4 separate regions of the Homo sapiens genome follow, and all the other regions are linked to region 3. Evidence: promoter capture Hi-C in human tissues and cell types (Jung and others, 2019). All regions are on one chromosome and are shown on one strand. The core of a region is centred on a gene start or on the middle of the fragment in contact, and the rest is flanking DNA. Distances in the headings are between cores, read along the strand shown.

The links. The method cuts DNA at HindIII sites, captures the fragments that hold promoters and counts their contacts. A contact is called where the count stands out against the background at its distance.
Region 1: a contact is called between a fragment that was not itself captured here and the fragment with the promoter of BEND4 in region 3, in 2 of the 25 tissues and cell types used here (IMR-90 fibroblasts and lymphoblastoid cells).
Region 2: a fragment that was not itself captured here is called in contact with the fragment with the promoter of BEND4 in region 3 in 1 of the 25 tissues and cell types used here (mesendoderm cells).
Region 4: a contact is called between a fragment that was not itself captured here and the fragment with the promoter of BEND4 in region 3, in 1 of the 25 tissues and cell types used here (H1 embryonic stem cells).

What each region holds. Positions count from the first base shown.
Region 1 is chr4:42,544,502-42,547,282 of GRCh38, forward strand. The region is part of intron 19 of ATP8A1 (ATPase phospholipid transporting 8A1); the gene reads right to left. Among named protein-coding and RNA genes, the nearest start is that of ATP8A1, 110 kb to the right of the region's middle. The HindIII fragment of the contact is 3,737 bases long and covers 1-2,781 here.
Region 2 is chr4:42,493,730-42,496,429 of GRCh38, forward strand. The region is part of intron 24 of ATP8A1 (ATPase phospholipid transporting 8A1); the gene reads right to left. Among named protein-coding and RNA genes, the nearest start is that of SHISA3, 98 kb to the left of the region's middle. The HindIII fragment of the contact is 4,724 bases long and covers 1-2,700 here.
Region 3 is chr4:42,151,212-42,153,947 of GRCh38, forward strand. It overlaps BEND4 (BEN domain containing 4), which reads right to left and starts at 1,444. Exons shown (of 6, transcript NM_207406.4): 1 at 1,321-1,444; 2 at 446-1,165. The coding sequence starts at 932. RefSeq lists an enhancer at 1-761 and silencers at 527-616, 817-1,136. The HindIII fragment of the contact is 6,033 bases long and covers 1-2,736 here.
Region 4 is chr4:42,509,821-42,512,629 of GRCh38, forward strand. All of the region lies in intron 22 of ATP8A1 (ATPase phospholipid transporting 8A1), which reads right to left. Among named protein-coding and RNA genes, the nearest start is that of SHISA3, 110 kb to the left of the region's middle. The HindIII fragment of the contact is 3,385 bases long and covers 1-2,809 here.

The DNA.
Region 1 (2,781 bases), core at 50-2,549, 390 kb after region 3:
CATCATGCTAAAAACTTAATTTATGCAGCAAAATTAAGCTAAAGAGCACAAATATTTTAATACTGTTGATGACATAGTTTAATAAGAACTGTCTGTCAAATGTACATCTTTCAATGCATTAGTAAAAAGAGATAGCAAATAACACTGAATGGAAGAAACTGCGACAGCATTACAAAGGATAGGACTCATTTGGACCATGAGTGTGTAAGCATCCTCCTCAGAACTGAGGGCAGAAGAGGACTACTCAAATGTCTGTATCTATTTGTTTTACCAGCTAAAAAACTGAGATGAGTTCAATATGCAGAAGCAGTCAGTTATGGTATCATAGTGTACAGTCAGGAGTTTCTTTCAGAGGTATTTAGAAATATTTCAGTTCCCGGCCTGGCACGGTGGCTCATGCCTGTAATTCTAGCACTTTGGGAGGCCGAGGCGGGCGGATCACAAGGTCAGGAGTTCGAGATCAGCCTGACCAACATGGTGAAACCCTGTCTCTACTAAAAATACAAAAATTAGCCAGGCATGGTATCACGTGCCTGTAATCCCAGCTACTCAGGAGGCTGAGGCAGAAGAATCGCTCGAACCCGGGAGGTGGAGGTTGCAGTGAACCGAGATTGCACCACTGCACTCCAGCCTGGGTGACAGGGCGAGACTCCGTCTCAAAAAAAAAAAAAAAAAAAAGGAATATTTAAGTTCCCTCTTTCTTTATCCATAATGCTCCTGGTATTACTACCCCAGTCTCTATCCCTGTACATCAGGAATACATTTAATTGGGCCTCCTTTGTAATGACACCTATACATTCTACGTTAGCCCTTCCTGATTCATGCCTCTTTTACTCCAGCTTTGATAATGTGGTCCCAAACTCATCAATGTCCTTGCTCTTCTCTTTTCCTGGTGAAACCTCCAAATATTGGGTGAATGAGAACTCTCTTTTGTGTTACATCAAAGTAGGTAGATGTTGCTGAAGAAAAGTTACCCGGCCATAGAGACTAGCAAATACATGATATACAACACCAACTGGGTGCTCCTTACTGCCCAGTAACCCAGCACATTCCAACAAGCTTGCTCTCTTGCACTGTGCAGGGCTACAGCACACCTTCTCCATTCTCCAAGTCTCCCGCGTTCCCTCCTCACCCCAGAAGCTTGACAAAAATTCACCTTGATAAAAACCTCAGATAAGAAATCCCTTTTTGCCCGGGTATGGTGGCTTACGCCTGTAATCCCAGCACTTTGGGAGGCTGAGGCAGGGGGATCATTTGAGGTCAGGAGTTCGAGACCAGCCTGGCCAACATGGTGAAACCCTATCTCTACTAAAAATTCAAAGATTAGCCAGGCATGGTGATGTGCACCTGCAATCCCAGCTACTTAGGAGGCTGAGGCATGAGAATAGCTTGAACCTGGGAGGCGGAGGTTGCAGTGAGCTGAGATCGAGCCACTGTACTGCAGGCTGGGTAACAGAGAGACACTCTGTCTCGGTTTGGGGGTGGGAAGAAATCCCTTTTCTTTCTGCCATTAAAACCTGCATATCTATGTGTGCACCATCTCCTCCATCTTTTTTCCTGATATGATGGAAGAAACATTTTCCTCTTATCAGAGGCCTTCCTTACACATGCCTGTGAACCTCCTCTCATCTCACTTTCTCAGTAACCTCGGTCCAAAGGTTATGCTGTTCTCCCCAGAATCTGCCTCTTCTCCTTCTGTAAGGATCCTGGTGATAAGCATTTAACATACTCTGTTCTCGCCCCGCAGCCATAAAAAATGATGAGTTCATGTCCTTTGTAGGGACATGGATGAAGCTGGAAACCATCATTCTCAGCAAACTATTGCAAGGACAAAAAACCAAACATCACATGTTCTCACTTACAGGTGGGAATTGAACAATGAGAACACATGGACACAGGAAGAGGAACATCACACACCGGGGACTGTTGTGGGGTGGGGGGAGGGGGGAGGGATAGCATTAGGAGATATACCCAAAGCTAAATGACGAGTTAATGGGTGCAGCACACCAACATGGCTCATGTATACATATGTAACAAACCTGCACGTTGTGCACCTGTACCCTAAAACTTAAAGTATAATAAAAAAAAAAAAAACAAAAAAACTCACCCGATGCAACCACTCCTCCATTAAGCCACATCCCTTTTCAACTCTTTCACATTTCACCTTCTCTAAACCATCACTCATCTATCCCCTTCATTCCCAGTCTTTTCCTTTTTCTTCTCTCCTCACCATTACAATGAATAGCTACATTCAACAAATACTTCTCAAACTTCTTACCTAACCTTGCAGCAGTCTCCGACACAGATGACCACTCTCTCTTTGAATCCTCTTCTCCTGGCTCTGTGCTATGACCCTCTCTCTGTCCTCTACATCTTTAACAACAAGGTTGTCTCTTTTGCTGATTCCTCTTTTTCTAATCAACCCTTACCCTCATGGCTTAATCTTCAGCCTTCCATTTCCCCCTCATTTTATATCTTCTCTTCAGGAGATCCCATTCAGTTTTATGACTTCAAATACCACTTACCAACCACTGACTGCCAAATTGCTATTTCAGCCATAGATTTCTCTTTTGTTTCAGGCCCTTATATTCAACTGCTTGCCTGATAGCTCTGCTTGTATGTCTCACAGTCATCTAAAACCTAAGACTTCAAACATTTCAACCTCCACATCTATTCCTATTCCCACTTCTGCCATCTGTGTAAATGGTACCTCTATCTACCCAGTTGTTCATGCCAGAGACCCTCACCCCTTCCTCGTTTCGCCTTCTACTGCCAATCCCT
Region 2 (2,700 bases), core at 90-2,589, 340 kb after region 3:
TCACATTTTTCTCATTCATAAGATTGGGTTACTATCTATTTTGTAGAGAGATTATAGTGATAAGATGTGCTAACTCCTTTATTTGTGAATAAAGTGCCCTGTCCAGTGCCTGGCATGAAGTGACATCCAGGAAAGGTTAGTTCTGCCCTTCCTCTGGTATCAGGTCTAACAAAGGTACTAACACGAAACGCGCCAGGTCCGGTGGCTCCCACCTGTAATCCCAATACTTTGGGAGGCCGAGGAAGGCAGATCACTTGAGGTCAGGAGTTTGAGACCAGCCTGGCCAACATGGTGAAACCCCTTCTCTACTAAAACAAAAAAATTAGCCGGGTGTGGTGGCACATGTCTGTAATCCCAGCTACTCAGGAGGCTGAGGCAGGAGAATTTCTTGAACCCAGGAGGCAGAGGTTGCAGTGAGCCAAGATCATGCCACAAAAAAAAAAAAAAAAAAAAAAAAAAGAGGTCAGGCTTGGTGGCTCATGTCTGTAATCCCAGCACTTTGGGAGGCCGAGGCGGGTGGATCACCTGAGGTCAGGAGTTCGACACCAGCCTGGCCAATATGGTGAAACTCTGTCTGTACTAAAAATACAAAAATTAACTGGATATGACATGACAGGTGCCTGTAATCCCAGCTACTTGGGAAGCTAAGGCACGAGAATCGCTTGAACCTGGGAGGTGAAGGTTGCAGTGAGCCGAGATCACGCCACTGCACTCCAGACTGGGCGACAGAGTGAGACTCCATCTCATGTGACTGGGATAATTTTAAGTTTTCTTATGAAATCTCCCAATGGCAATTTTATTTCAATTTACCTTTTGACTGCCAACATTCAATACTATCAGCTACTTCTGGAAACCTGTCTTCTCAATCTAGGAAAGATGGCATTATCTAGTCTCATGTGACATATAGCTCTTGGTACATGGTAGGAGGACAAATATTTATATAACTAACCACTGATTTTCTCTCTTAATTTCTGTCTCCAACCTGATAGAATTCTTAACTGAAAATAATTGGAAAGTTATAAACTGATGTGGCATTTCTCTTTTATTATCTGTATAGTTCTGCATAGGTGACCACATCAATGTATGTATTTGGTTTAAAATAATTAATTATAAAGACGACACCCAGGGTTTGTTTTGCTGACATGTTCTTCAGACACAACACCACTGAGTTCATTCTTAGGTTTTGTTTTTAAAGCAGAGAAATAAATGTTTACTGGGAGTAAAAAACAAAAACACCACCAGCACCTTACTTTAGTTTGCTAAGGCTCTACCTTTTAAAATCTACTATAAATTAATTTAAAATGTCAAATAAGAGGATATATATAAGAATCTTAAACTAACACATATTTTATTAGCTGTTTTGGTGGTTTGAGGCTCCACCTCATCATCATTTAAGACGTGAGGTATTTACAAATTTATGGTCAAATCATGTTTCATTCTGTCTCTACTCTTACACTCTCCAAATGTTCACACTTTAAAATTATGAATTAACGGAACATTCTAGAAACATTCTTAATAATACATTATGACCATATCAAGTATGGACAATGTTAGCACGTTCTTAAAGAGTGAGTTATGGCTCCCATAATAACATATGGATAAACCATTGGGTATTACTTGCTTTTCTACAATGTGTTATTGATTCAGTGGAACACTGGGCATTCCATATACTCCTACGCAACACATATATCAATACTCCTCCAGCTACTGCAGGTGGTAGTAAAAGAACGTATGCCTGAGAGTAGGGAGAAACTACATTTATGTACAACTGGCCCATTTAGTATTCATCCCAGTCAGGATCACTAGCTCTCTTTGACGTGGTTCCCCTGCAACCCCCTGACACATTATAAAATCAAAACTTATTTTAAAAAATTGTATTTATTGGTTTTTTTTTTTTGATGTAGTTTTTGATCAAAAAGCTTTGGTGTTTCCAAACTCGTAGCCTGTACTAGAACATAATGTTGAAAAACATATGTGTATAGAATCAAACCAATATAAAGTAATTTTTCCAAAACGGGTAAGGCAGACAGAAGGTGAAGTCATTAAAAACACATGGTCAAAGAGGTCCTCCAAACAGCTTAGAGGAAGGCGGCCCAACGAACGCATTTAATCAATATATATTGCTAAAGATAATGGGGAGAGGAAAAGAGAAAAAAAATTCCATGCTTTGCTAATACACAAATATAGGTTTCCCAGGACGGGGGTAGATATGGAATACTGTAATTGAGGAAGTGGTCCAATCTCCCAGAAGGGTCATGCCATCTGACAAAGGTCAAGGGTCACAAAATGGAGGCAGGTAGGAAGAGGAAGTTGTAGTGCTGGGTAAATTGCTCTTGGCCCCTCAACAGAGGTTTGAGATTTGGGATTATGATAGGTTCCATCAGGCAAATAAGTGCTTGCGAGGCATCTAGTCTCACTTAGGGTACAATGCAGAGAGAGGCAGCAAAGTGCTGAATCTGTGTCCAGTCTGTGTTTCAGCACGGGGGTGGGGACATGTAGCAAAGACAGACAAATCCAGGGAAAGGAAGGAAGAGTGGGATAAGGGATATAATTATATAATTTAAAGAGTTTTCTGGATAAAGGCTTTTACCAAAGCCCCCATGGTAATTATTTTAAACCACCACTGAAAGCCTCCTAAACACTTATTTTGACTTTGGTATTAAATATTCTCCAGTGGCAGCAGTGAATGCAGAAGCAAAG
Region 3 (2,736 bases), core at 194-2,693:
GAGAAGAAGAAACAAATGGAGGAAGAAGGAGAAAGGGAAAAAGCAGACGGAAAAAGTGAAGTAGTACGAGGGCGTCCCAGCGGGGCGGCCCGAGAAGCTCCAGCTTCTTCCCGAGCGGCCGCCGCTATCCCCCGGGGGGGCGTCTGGCCCCACTCCGGACCACGCCCGAGCGATCCTGGTCGCCGACTGCCACAGCCGTGCTTCCCGGCGCGGGATCCAAGCCGCGGAGCCACCTGTTAGGCGCGCGCCGTCGGAAGCCCAGGCGCGGCGGCGCTGGAGAATCCTCTCGAAGTTTCCGGGTGCGCGGGGAGGCCCCAGGTGCGCCCCGACATCCCGACACGGCCCAGCACGGGTAAGTGTCGGCGGCCCCCCGCTTCTCCTTCCTGGGTCCCCTCCCGCTGCCCCCGGCCGTGGCGGGAAGGAAAGTTGTGCGGAGAGTTGGTACCTGCGCTGAGCTCCAGGCTGGCGCTGTCGCTACCCGTGCCGCCGGTGCCGGCGGCCGCCGCCGCGCCTGGGCCATACCTGACGACAGCGGCGAACGAAGACGACGAGGAGGCGGCGGGGGACGCGGGCGGCGGCTGCGCCGGAGTCCTCAAGTGGCCCTGGGATGTGGCGGGCGTGCAGGACGGCGACGACGACGAAGCGGCGGCGGCGGCCCGGCCGGGCCCGGGGGGGTAGGAGCTCTGCGCCTGGAACTGCTGCGGCGGCGGCTCGCTGCTGCTGATGGAGACGGCGGCGTGCGGCGCGAAGGGCGGCGGGGGCGGCGGGGGCGCCCGCACGTGCGGCAGCTCCACCAGGGTGGGTCGCTCGTAGCGCTTGGCCAGCGCCGGTCTCTTGCTGGGGAACGTCTTGAGGACGCTGTAGGGGCTGCGCTGCTTGTAGATTTTGGGGACGCTGGGCCCCTCCTCTGCCGGCTGCATCTCTTCCTCCATCCGGCGCCTCGGGGCCGGTCCCTCGGAGCACGTCCCCTCCCCGCCGGGCGCCGGGCTCCGAGGGTGCCTCCGCCGCCTGCCCGCCGGGTCTGCCCTGGTGCGCGCGTGTGGGAGGGTGTGTGTCTGTGCCGTGGCCGCCGCCGCCGCCGCCTGTCGCTGAGGCTGGCATCGCCGAGCCCCCGCGCGGGGGGCTGCCGCCCGAGCTCCTGATTGACAGGCTGCCTCGCCAATGCCTGGAGGGAGAAAGGAGGTAAAGAGCAAGTGTTTAGGGTAATATCTGCTAATGATAATGGGGGCGGGGCGGGGCCTGGCGCCGCAGCCGCCCGCGGGGTCTGCCTGGCGGCTCCGCGCCTCCGACGGGGAGCGGGGGAAGGGGGAAAGCGAGGACCTGGAGGACGCCCGGGAACTGGTGAAGAAGGTGGGGATCCGGGATCTGGCTACGGCGAGACTTTAGAGACCCAGATGTGGACTCGAGGCTTCTGCGGCTGCGGGCGGGGTCCGGCTTCCGAAACGAGCTCGTGGCGCCCCCTGCATGACCCCAAACTCTCGGGGTTGCACAGAGGAGGGGCTAGTCGTTGGGGCGGGGTCGTCAGAGTACGTGTGTATTACAGCAAGTTCTTCTACCAATCGGGAATTGCTCTCCGATCCTTCTGAAAAGAACCTCTTGAAGATCTTGGCCCGGGTGGTCGCGCGGTGTTTACGGGGCTTTGGGGTCCTGCTTTCCCCGAGCATCGCGGCCTCTGAGCTCATGCGGAACATAAAAGCTCGCAAGGCGTAGAACTTTTTCACGTTTTCATTTGTTTCCCGTAGGGGCCCCGAGAACGTGCATGACACCATGATTTCCCCCCCATTATAAAGATGAGAAAACCGAGGCTCTGAGAGGTTGAAGGGAATTGCCCAAAGTCAGACACTCGGGAGTGTGCGGCTGTGTTGCACTGACGCATCCAGGTTATTTGAAGTCAACTCCTCACTTCCCATAGCCAGTAGCCTCTGTGCAATTGAGTGGGGAAATGTCCTGATACCTCCCTTTGAGGTGATGATTACTTTCAACAGTGTCATTTTTAATATATGTATATGTACTTGCAAGCCCAGGGAAACACGAGAACTCACTCCTTGCATTGTTTTACTCACTGCAACTGGCGCCATCCGGCGAGGGTCTGGAGGGTGCCCAATTTCAGTAGCCGTTTGAATGAGAGATCTCAGTCGTTGGGAGGAAGATCCTCCATGGGATGCAGATGTCCTGGTCTCTCCCAGCCACTTTTTGGGGCAGAGGGTCCATTGCTCCCTATCCCAAATCACCCCTCTTCTAGGCCAACCAGCATACCCTGCCCCAGGTTTGCTTTTCAGCCTTCCTTTTTCGTTCTCCAGGTCAGAGTTCTGGATGCTCCTTGATGTAGGACCCTCATCTCTGCACTCTGAAGTTTGTTTCCTTTTCAGAGCCTTCCTTTTATTCTTAGGAAGGTGACCCATTTTCTTCTGGGGGTTCACATCTTTTGGCCTCTCTTTCCCTGGTCTCCTTCCCTTTGGAAGCTTTTTCTCTCTGCCTTGCTGGTTCAGCTTCTGTATTATTCCCCCCTAGATTGTCTCCCTCTCTCCTGCAGCTTCCTCAGATGGTGCTGTGTCCCCCCCCCAATCCATTTATTAGAGATGAAATAAATAATGCCATAAATATAAGTATTTGGGAGTCCAGGAACTGTCAGGGCTGATTAGGGCATAGAGGACATTTTCTTTCTCATTATGCAAAAGCATTTCATGGGGAAATAAAAGAGGTTTCATTGTAACTCATGCATGTCATATTTCAAGG
Region 4 (2,809 bases), core at 31-2,530, 360 kb after region 3:
CAGCCTGGGCAACAGAGCGAGACAGTCTCAAAAAAAAAAAAAAAAAAAAAAAAGTTATTGTTTCTTTTAAGCTTTCCTTTATTTCTTAAAATAAAATTTCCCCTCTGCTGTTCTCCTACAGAATTTTGCTCATCTTCATGTACATTAAGAGAAGTGTAAATGCATGAGTATGGTAGGTTTGCTCAAAATTAGGGACCACGTCTTGCTCATCTTAATGACTCCACAGCATTGAATGTCAGCATTTAGTATGTTTGCTAAGTGAGCTAATGACAAGACCAAAATCCAGAAATTACAAAAATACTGCTGCAATCTAGACCATTTTCTTTTCAATATATTCCAAATAATATGGATGGTTATTAGACACACTTGATGCATGACTTCTTAGTGTATAATATATAATACAGGAAGGTAAATTTCTTTCAAGAAGATAGCATTATTTTATTTCCTTTAATGGGAAGCAGATTTGAAATCTACCATAACCTGATGAACAATTATCATCAAGAAGTTCAAGCAAGGAAAGGAAGAACAATTCAGCATCAGTGATGCCAGCACCACAACTGTTGAATTTAAATGTTTACACAATGATTCTTCCAAATCTTCAGCTACTTTTAGGGCATTTGCAGTTAAATCATTCTGGCTCACATCCCAGTGAAGATCAGGATATAGCTGTGTTCAAATTTTAAGCATTTTACCCAAGGCATAAGGTTTTTTTTTTTAGTGATCATGGGGACAGCTTATTAATACAAGCCCTCAAAATTTCCTGCAAAAATATTTTTTTGCAATATGTTTCCCAAAACACTGGGGTAACTAGATAATGTGGGAGCCAAGATACGAACACATTCATTAGAAACATATAAACAAATATTTTGTATATTTTCTGTCTCTACTCTAAGGGGAAAAATGAGCTCAGAAAGTCCACCAATATAAAATACATTACCACTCACATACCTATAAAAATAAAATGACTTCACTGGAGAGATCACATTGAAATCATATTTGAAAGAAGGAAAGCATCTAGTTTTGCACAGGTAAAAGAGAAACATTTTCAAAGCAGGCACAAATAACATAAAGGATCAAAGATGTAGGGCCAGCAAGGTATGCTGAGAAAAGTCACACAAGTAGGTTAACATGGAGTGTTGTGGTGGCTTTAACACAAATCCTTAAGAAGAATAATAAAACATTTCGGAATATTCAGCAAAATTGTAATGGGTCTACTTTGATGCCTATGAAGGAAACACTGTACTCCATAAGCGTGTTAATTTTCCCTTTATCCCAGGAGCTCCTTGAGAACAGCACTGGTTAATTTTAGCAGAAGGTTCTGCAGACTCCTTTCCTTTTGCCCTGGTATCATTTATGGTGAGATCAGAATCTTGAGTGATGGGCTGTTCTGCTTTTGGAAATTAATATTGTTAGCTATATAATGATCACTAGAAAAAAAGATTTGAACTTTGCGTGCTTTTCCTGATCATAACACAAGAGTGTTTAGGCTATAATCAATTTCATCCCAAATATGTATTACCTTACACAGATGGCCACTAATGGGCACTAGGGGAATTACATATTCAGCAAGTGTTGAAATGCGATAAAATTCCCATGGCATTTATGGAATTCAAAAAAAAACTCCAAACACTAATTTTACTTTCTAAATGTCACCAAGCTAAATGTTATAAAGGCTTGAGGTTGATGACTCTTTGACATAATATAGATTTAGTTATCACTGAAAAAATCATAAAATAATGTTTATTCACCTAGTAAAGCCTCCAGTAATGTTTTCTCTTTCAGATGTTCCTAATGTATGCAGAATTTTTAAAAAGGCACATAAATGTAACATTTCTACTGTAAGTGAGGACAGAAAGCTTCATGTAGTTTGGTAAAATGTATTATGATAGCTTTAGAAATTATGATTTTTCCCCAATACATGTATATTTTGCTAAATAATGGAACCTCAAAGTGACCTATTTCCATATTAGCAAACATTATGTCAGTGCTTAGATGATGTCATTTTTTTTTAAAGTTTGTGATATGCTTCTAAATGAGAAAGATATAATAATCAAACTCGTATCAACCTAGGCTTCAGATTACAACATGGGCTATTTGGCAGAAATTTCCTTAAAGACAAAGTAATATTATTAAACCAAATTGTACCACTGGAGTAAATGTGGATAAATACTAGTAGGATTTATTTCCATATGAAATAAGATTATGACTAGGAAGATGTTGAAGAGGAAACCAGCATTTCACGGATAGAAAAATTGTACCAGGCACTGCTAAGTGCTTTACATTTAGTAATTCAGTTAATAGCTTTGGGGAGGTTGAGTAAATTGTCTAAGGTCAACTAGAGGTGCAGCTAAGCTATGACCGTAAGGACAAAACACCAAGAACTAATACATACCCAAGGAAGCAAATGGGATGTAAAACTGAGATTAGATGAAAATTAGAATTTTGTTCAAATCATCAGGTTTTTAAACTTTTGTGTCTGTTCTTGGTCTTCAATAATACTTCATTTCTATGAGAGGGTTTCAGCCTCAGGCCTGAGTCACCCGTCAGGTGTACCTATTTCCCTATTCCTACCTGCAGGCCTCAGGGTCACATTTCAGGATTAGCTCCTTTACAAGCACACATGCATGCCTGCATTCATTCACAAATATACTCCAAGCAGGTGCTTCTGGGCAGGTACTTGTGCCGGGGATACAATAGTGAGTTCCTTCCTGCATGAAATTTATATTTCAGAAAGCTTCATTAGAAACTCTCCTTGGATTCCTGGCTGCCTCGTTTTCTAACTGTACCTCCTTGCCTTACTGGTGTTTCT